3 separate regions of the Homo sapiens genome follow, and all the other regions are linked to region 2. Evidence: promoter capture Hi-C in 16 types of primary human blood cells and fetal thymus (Javierre and others, 2016). All regions are on one chromosome and are shown on one strand. Each heading gives the region's core, a stretch centred on a gene start or on the middle of the fragment in contact. The rest is flanking DNA. Distances are from core to core; before and after follow the strand shown.

The links. Contacts are between HindIII fragments. The CHiCAGO score rates a contact against its expected background, and 5 or more counts as called.
Region 1: a contact is called between a fragment that was not itself captured here and the fragment with the promoter of SMIM18 in region 2, in 1 of 17 cell types (M2 macrophages). The highest score is 5.9, in M2 macrophages.
Region 3: a contact is called between a fragment that was not itself captured here and the fragment with the promoter of SMIM18 in region 2, in 2 of 17 cell types (M1 macrophages and endothelial precursors). The highest score is 7.2, in M1 macrophages.

Annotation. Positions count from the first base shown.
Region 1 is chr8:30,191,474-30,194,173 of GRCh38, reverse strand. No RefSeq gene overlaps it. Among named protein-coding and RNA genes, the nearest start is that of DCTN6-DT, 36 kb to the right of the region's middle. The HindIII fragment of the contact is 1,665 bases long and covers 463-2,127 here.
Region 2 is chr8:30,637,330-30,640,029 of GRCh38, reverse strand. SMIM18 (small integral membrane protein 18) reads right to left here and starts at 1,450. Exons shown (of 3, transcript NM_001206847.2): 1 at 1,391-1,450. The region is part of intron 2 of GTF2E2 (general transcription factor IIE subunit 2); the gene reads left to right. The HindIII fragment of the contact is 1,323 bases long and covers 1,305-2,627 here.
Region 3 is chr8:30,173,930-30,176,629 of GRCh38, reverse strand. DCTN6 (dynactin subunit 6) reads right to left here. Exons shown (of 7, transcript NM_006571.4): 3 at 1,440-1,545. Among named protein-coding and RNA genes, the nearest start is that of DCTN6-DT, 19 kb to the right of the region's middle. The HindIII fragment of the contact is 978 bases long and covers 824-1,801 here.

The DNA of each region.
Region 1 (2,700 bases), core at 46-2,545, 450 kb after region 2:
CGGGTTCAAGCGATTCTCCTGCCTCAGCCTCCTGAGTAGATGGGATTACAGGCATGTACCACCACACTCGGCTAATTTTTGTATTTTTACGGAGTCTCACCGTGTTGATCAGGCTGGTCTCGGACTCCTGACCTCATGATCCACGACATCAGCCTCCCAAAGTACTGGGATTACAGGCATGAGCCACTGCGCCTGGCAAACATCAAATTCTTGTTCTTCAATATTAAACCTTCTCTGTTCTGGTGATCTCTGGAGCTTAGTGAGTGTATCACTATCCATCTACTTATGCAAAATAGAAACTCCTAGGGTCATGCTTGCCACCTGTCTCTCCCTTCCCTTAGTATTTAGTTCATCCCTGAATCTTATCAGTTTTGTCTCTTAATTACATCTTTAATTTTTCCACTTGTCCATATCTTTATTGCCACATCCCAAAGCTGCCATTATCTCTTGTTAAACAAAGCTTTTTCTCTGGCTTCATATCTACAATCATGTGTCACTTAACAATGGGGATGAGTTCTGAGAAATGTATCATTAGGCAATTTCATCATTGTATGAATATCACAGAGTGTACTTACACAAACTAGATGATATATCCTACTATATATCTAGGCTATAGCCCATTGCTCCTAGGCTACAAACCTGTACTGCACATTACTGCTCTGAATACTATAGGTGATTGTAACACAATGATAACTACTATACTTCTATACAACTAGCAGCACAGTAGGTTTGTTTACACCAGCATTGCCACAACACATGAGTAATGTGTTGCACTATGATGTTCCAATGGCTATGACATCACTTGGTGATAAGCATTTTTCAGCTCCATTATAATCTTATGAGACCACTGTCATACATGTGGTCTGTCATTGACTGAAACGTTGTTATGCAGTGTGTGACTGTACATGTATAATATGCTCTTGCCCCTTTTCAGTTAACCATCCCTACAGCAGCCAGCAATGTTGGGACCAGGCAGATGCTTACTGCATCAGTAGAGCAGGACACTAGAAAATTGAGGCAACTTTTTGATATTTTGTAACAGGACACAAAATTTCTGCAAGTCACAGACAACGCAGTTCACTCTCGCTTAAATAGGGAGAAAATGTATTATCTACAAGGACTAGGCTCTAAGTTTGGGTTCAGCCATGTCTTGAAGCATCTATATTTTTTATATCTTTGCATTTTGTTGCTTCCCCTCATGGTGGTAAGGTGGCTGCCAGTTCCAAACAGGCAGCATGTTCCCCTATTCACATCCAGTGGAAGAAGGAAAACCTCCCCCAACTATGAAATATGTTCTTCCCTTAGCTTGTATTAGGCAAATTATACATGCACCTGTGGATCAGAGAAAGGCCAAATATTCATTGGAATGGACTGATTAAAGTCAATCCATGGATGGGTGGATAGTTGAACAAAATTGAAGATCTGTTAGGAAGAAGAAAGTGATGTGCTATGGTCTGAATCTGTGTCCCATCCCCCAAATTTATGTTTGAAATTCCATCCCCATGATGGTGGTATTAGAAAGTGGGGACTAGGCCAGGCACGGTGGCTCACATCTGTAATCTCAGCACTTTGGGAGGCCGAGGCAGGTGGATCACCTGAGGTCAGGAGTTCAAGACCAGCCTGGCCAACATGGTGAAACTCCGTCTCTCCTAAAAATACAAAAAATTAGCCAGGTGTGGTGGCACATGCCTGTAATCCCAGCTACTTGGGAGGCTGAGGCAGGATAATCACTTGAACCTGGGAGGTGGAGGTTGCAGTGAGCCGAGATTGCACTGTTGCACTCCAGCCTGGGGGACAAGAGTGAAATTTCATCTCAAAAAAAAAAAAAAAAAAAAAAAAAAAGGAAGGTGGGGCCTTTGGGAGATGATCAGGTCATGAGGATGAAGCCCTCATGAATGGGATTAGCATCCTTATAAAAGAGGCCCAAGGAAGATTGTTTGCCCCTTTTGCCATGTGAGGGCACAGTAAAAAGATGGCCTTCACCAGATATCAAATCTACCAGCACCTTGATCTTGGACTTCCCAGCCTCCAGAACTGTGAGAAATAAATTTCTATTGTTTAAGCCCCTCAGTCTATGGCATTTTGTTACAGCAGCTTAAATGGACCAAGACATGAAAGACAGAAGCTTGTCCTTGATCTCATATGTCTCTTCTTTGGTGCAGAGCTTTAAACATACAGAAGGGGCCACATATCTTGCAAAAAGAGGAAGGCAGCCTTAGCAAAATATCATTTCCAACATGAGAGATTTCACCCTTCATTTTCAGTGTTCAAAACTGAAAATGCACTTGATTTTACGTGGGACAAACAAAATTTAATAATTATAACTTAGTAAAGAGCTTTTTAATGTTTCTATTTGCATTATGATAAAGTTAGAATGTAAAGAATGCCATCTGGGGCAGGGTGCTGTGGCTCACACCTGTAATCCCAGCACTTTGGGAGGCCAATGCAGGAGTATAGCTTGAGCCCAGGAGTTCGAGATCAGTCTGGGCAACATAGGGAGATCTCGTCTCTACAAAAAAAAATTTAAAAATGAACTGGACATGGTTGTGCATGCCTGTAGTCCCAGCTAATTGGGAGGCTGACGTGGAAGGATCATGTGAACCTGGGAGGTCAAAGCTGCAGTGAGCCATGATAGTGACACTGCACTTCAGCCTGAGTGACACAGTGAGACCCTTTCTTAAAAAAAGAAAAAAAAAAAAA
Region 2 (2,700 bases), core at 201-2,700:
GACAGTTTACCTGAAATTTGATTTGTAAGTTAACTGTTTTATTTGACAAAGTTATTTTTATTTTATCTGAGACTTTTGTTTGGTGCTTCTGTACTTTCTGTAGCAAGCACAAATGGTTTCTAGATAATTAACCCCACTGTGCTGAACCTGGACAGATCTAGTATCTTATTACAGCAACCTTTGGGTTTTGCAGGGGATACTTTGCTCAGGCTAGCTGAATGCCGACTAAGAAAAGGAATAGAAATTATGAAGAAAAAAAAAACAAAAACCCTTTAAAGATTAAATAAACTTACCAGCAAGGTAAAAGGACAGAAGCTGGCTCTTTAGGTCCGATATAGTATATAGATGGAGTTCTAACATCTAGTAAATAACTAAATTTTCATGCTTGAATAGTATAAAATTAGAAATTTGGTCAGCAGTTAATATTAATTTTTAATAGACATGAATGATTGCTCTGAGCCACGAAGATAATCTTGTTACCTAGAAAGGTACTTACTCTCCTTTCTTAACCAGTTCTTCTTAGGACATATTTTTATTTTAAAATGCAGTTTATCAAAAGGACTTACTTTGTATTTATTTTGAGGATCAGTTTAAGAATGACTTCAACATTATATTTAAATGGTGTGATAAATTGATATCAAAAATGAAAGGCTATTTAAGAAGGTTTTTGTTTAATAGCATGACTTTATATTACGAGAGAGAAATTTCACAGTGAAGAAATACTTTAATTAAATGTTAAGGAAGTCTGAAGCTGTATAAATTATCTGTTCAGTGTAGTATAATGCAGCCCATATAGTGATACCTTTTATGATCTTTTATATAAAAATTAAAATTGTGATAATTTCTTGGCATTCTCTGCATCTACATTCAAAGCAAAATAAAAATAATTTTGAACTATTTTCTCATATTCTAAAAAATATAACAAACTTTCTTATAAGTAACTATTTTTTAGCAGCCAATATCATTTGCACATAGAATCAGAAAGCTTTAGTCTGGAATTCGCTTTTGATCTGGGTTTTTCTTTAAGAAAAATCCTTTGTTAAGACAGACCAAACTGCAGAAATGAAATCGCTCAGAGAAAATGAAATTAGCAAGTAACCAGTTAAAATAAAAAGCTATGGTTTACTCTGAGGTCTGGATATAGATCAGGTTCATGTAAAATGTAATGAATTTTCCATTAAGGCACAGATGGTAAGGGTGCTTATCAAATAGCACAAGGCAGTCTTCATATTTTCATAATAAAATCCTACCAAGCGGTGAAACGAATACATTGCTTTTTCTTGATATTTAGTAGGAGCAAAGCTTTCTGGTTGATTTTTCAGGGTAAAATATTTTCCTATTGCATCATAAGGACATGTACCACTAAATAAAAAAGATCATATAAACCTACCTCTTGTCTGAGAGGATGCTGCTGAAGCGATGGTATCGTCTGTTTGTAATGCAGTCTAGTGCACAGCCAAGATGGAGCTGTGCTTCTATTGGTTGAACCACAATGGAGCTGACAGTTTCCTCTATGTTCATTTGCATTAAGTCTTGCCACCCTTAAGAGTAAATCATTCATAAACTTGAATAGAGCTGTCTGGGGTATCAACTGTCATCCCTTCTCCTTTATTTTTTTGTTCTTAAGCTAAATTCCTATATAGGAATTTGTGAGTTACTAACAAATTGATGATTCTTTAGTGTTTCATTATAAAATTTCAGATCCTTCAGTGAATACTTCAGTGCTAGGGCTGGAAGATAATGTCGGGAAAGGTAGTAACCTAGGAAACAAACAGTCCAGGTTTGCCAGCCTGATATTTCCTTCAGGAAGTGTGCATAAAATCTTATAAATTTTTCTTGTTCTTCCTTTTCTTTCATTACTTGTTCCGTATATAATTTTTGCACTCTGGAAGTGATTATTTCCATGTGGTGGTTTGATTTAGGAGGAATTATGAAGGAAAATAATTGGCTTTTAGCTCTGCAAGTTGGAAGAGGGCTCATTTAGGTAAATACACTACCTGCATTCAAAAAATAGTCTCTAAAATGTAAATGGCAAAGTGATCTCCAGGTTGGCTCTTTAGAGACAGAGTATTTTTAGTTACTGTGTATTATTTAGAGTTATGGTCTAAGCACAACAGAATGAAGGTTTTTAATTATGGGAGTGGCTGTTAACAACAGCAGCAGACCAGGTACATGCTATGTAGACTTCTTTTTTAAAATTATAGATGAAGGCTGGGAGCGGTGGCCCATGCCTGTAATCCCAGCACTTTGAGAGGCTGAGTTGGGTGGATCACAGGGTCAGGAGTTCAAGACCAGCCTGGCCAAGATGGTGAAACCCCATCTCTACTAAAGTACAAAAATTAGCCAGGCACGGTGGCAGTCTCCTGTAATCCCAGCTATTCAGGAGGTTGAGGCAGGAGAATTGCTTGAACCCGAATGGCAGAGGTTGCAGTGAGTTGAGATCACACCACTGCTCTCCAGCCTGGGCGACAGAGTGAGACTCCATCTCAAATAAAATAAAATAAAATAAATAAAATAAAATTATAGATGAATTGGTACATTAGTTTCTGGGGCCATAAAGGAATGCATAGAAATATCTGTATTATAGTCATTCATTCAACAAATATTTATTGAGTGTTTACTAAGCTTGACATTGAGTTAGTAGTAGATGCCAGAGACATAAGCATCATGTCTCATAAGCACAACTGTTTGTGATTCATA
Region 3 (2,700 bases), core at 63-2,562, 460 kb after region 2:
TTGAAGAGAGCTACTGAAAAGTGAAGAAGTCATTGGTGTGTGGAAAAGAATAGCCTTCCTTAGTTTATTTGATTTTTTTATTTTTTATTTTTTTTTGAGACGGAGTCTTGCTGTGTCCCCCAAGCTGGAGTGCAGTGGCACGATCTTGGCTCACTGCAACCTCCACCTCCCAGCTTCAAGCGATTCTCCTGCCTCAGCCTCCCAAGTAGCTGGGACTACAAGGTGGGGTGCCACCACGCCCGGCTAATTTTTTTTTGTATTTTCAGTAGAGACGGGGTTTCACCATATTGGTCAGGCTGGTCTTGAACTCCTGACCTCGTGATCTGCCCGCCTCGGCCTCCCAAAGTGCTGGGATTACAGGCATGAGGCACCACGCCCAGCCTACTTTATTTTTTAAATTCAAAGTCCAGTGGGTCTTCTCCAGGACAAAGGAAAGAAGATGCTAGCTATCTTTTTAGGCTGTTAATTAGAACCAAAATCATGCCTAACTTGAAAATTTTCCACCCTTAATAATCATTTGGGATTGTGAAACATAAACAGATATTCACATAAAATAATTATTGCTATTAGTTAGCTAGTTGAAATATTTGGAAGATAAAATGTTTGTGTTCTAAGAGGTGGACGCCATTTTTAAATGGTGCTTTATCTCTGACAGTTGAGTTACTGCAGAATATAGTTGCTGTTAATTGACTTACACTGAAGGTGCCAAATGTATTTTAAATCCTAAGTAAGCATTAAATCAGTCTTTTTCTGACAGTTAAATATTTTCCCAAGGTCTTTCTTACAAATTCCATACATGGTTGCTATAAATTAGGTATAAGCTTGAATTCCTTCCCAAAATTTTATCTAGAAAGAACTTATGTTTATGAAAAATTCATACGTATTACAGTCTAGTTCACTCAGATCATGCACATGTTCTAGTATTTTATTATTTTTAATCTTTACAGTTTAAAAATTGCCTCTAAGACTCCACATTTTTCAACTATAATTCTGGGTGTCACCTGTGCAAAACATGTGAAAAAATATATTTGAGTTAAATTCACGTGTTTAGGCATGAGTAATAACATTTCAGCTACAACCAAAAAATCAAAAAAAAAAAAAACTCTGCAGGGTGGTGGGCACAGCACTTGGAGGCTTGAAGTGTTCGGGAAATGTTTGCTTAAGGAATGGGTGAGATAGCCACATGTAAGGGGAAGATCACCAGACCGAGCGTCAAAGATTCTAGGCAGCTACTCAGCTCTCTCATCTTGGACAAGTCTTTTCCCTCATATGGTATTTGGTTTGCTCATTTACTTATGTTGAAAAAGACCCTTAATGCTTCTCTAGCTCTAAAATAGTAGGCCTCCTGGATGTCAGCTGAAAAGGTTCTTACAGACAGCTGAAATTAAGAAAAACCGTTACCCATGGTACTTGGTTCACAGTATGTATAAGAGTCTTACGCATTTATGATAAGGGCCTGTTCTTCTATTAGGTTCCCTTCGCCAATCACTATTGGCCCGGCTTCCGCAATAATTCTTGCTTTAGGGTGGATCACTGTCCGAGGTCCTGTTAAAAATAGTTTGAGAAGAAATTATTGGTGGAGGCTATGCTTCCAACAGAAGGGTGGAAGGTGACTGAGGATGGGTGAGGCTGTTGGGAGGAACATTTTCTAAGTATGTGCCAGGCACCAAGCTAGGTACTTCACAGATACTATCTCCCAGGCTTTATCATCAGTAGTCAGGGCCAAGTTGCAAGCCAATGTGAGTGGAATGGCACAGGCACTAGAGCCAGACAGCTCTGGCTCAGCCTCCACTCGGAAGCTTCCTGTGATCTCAGCGGTGAAACAGAGGTGATGACAACACCAGTCCCACAGGGTTGCTGTAAGGGCTAGGGGCGATAATGCTGGAGACACAGCATGTGACACAAAGGTGGCAATAAAAATTAATTCCTTCTTTTCCCTCAGCAAGGTAACACTCTCTTTGCTTAAGCTGTTCTGCTTTCTTATGCGAGTGTACCTCCGAATTAGTCTTTTTATTACATAATTGAGAAGAAATGTGGAGGCCAAGGCGGGGAGATCGCTTAAGGTCAGGAGATCGAGACCAGCCTGACCAACATGGCGAAACCCCATCTGTACCAAAAAATACTAAAATTAGCCAGGCATGATGGTATGTGCGCCTGTAGTCCCAGCTACTTGGGAGGCTGAGGCAGGAGAATCATGTGAACACAGGAAGCAAAGGCTACAGTGAGCTGAGATCATGCCACTGTACTCCAGCCTGGGTGACAGAGCAAGACCCTGTCTCAAAAAAAGAAAAAAAAAAAAGGAGAAATATGGGTGGACAGAAGTCAGAAATTATGGGATCTAACAGCTTTGTTCCTCTGTCAGTGTCCCTATTACAAGCACACCTACTGAAAGGTGGCACAGCTTCTGCTGTCTGGCCCAGGATATGATTTAAACCAGTGAAAGCTGAAAAGGTTAAAGGGAGGCAGCAGAAGGACCCAAAGGTGATCACTGGAGTCCGAGGACTTTGGCGTGGGGAGCCCTGAGGCGATGCCTCTAGTCTCGAATTGAAGGGAACAGCCAGGGCCCTCATTACTCCCACTTCACCAGCACGGTCTACCCCGCCCTGAGCCTGGAATGCTAACATACTCCCTCCCAGCTTTATCTACCACAGGCTGAGGGTTCTGGTGATAATGAAACCACTGATGAGAAAACATAGCCTC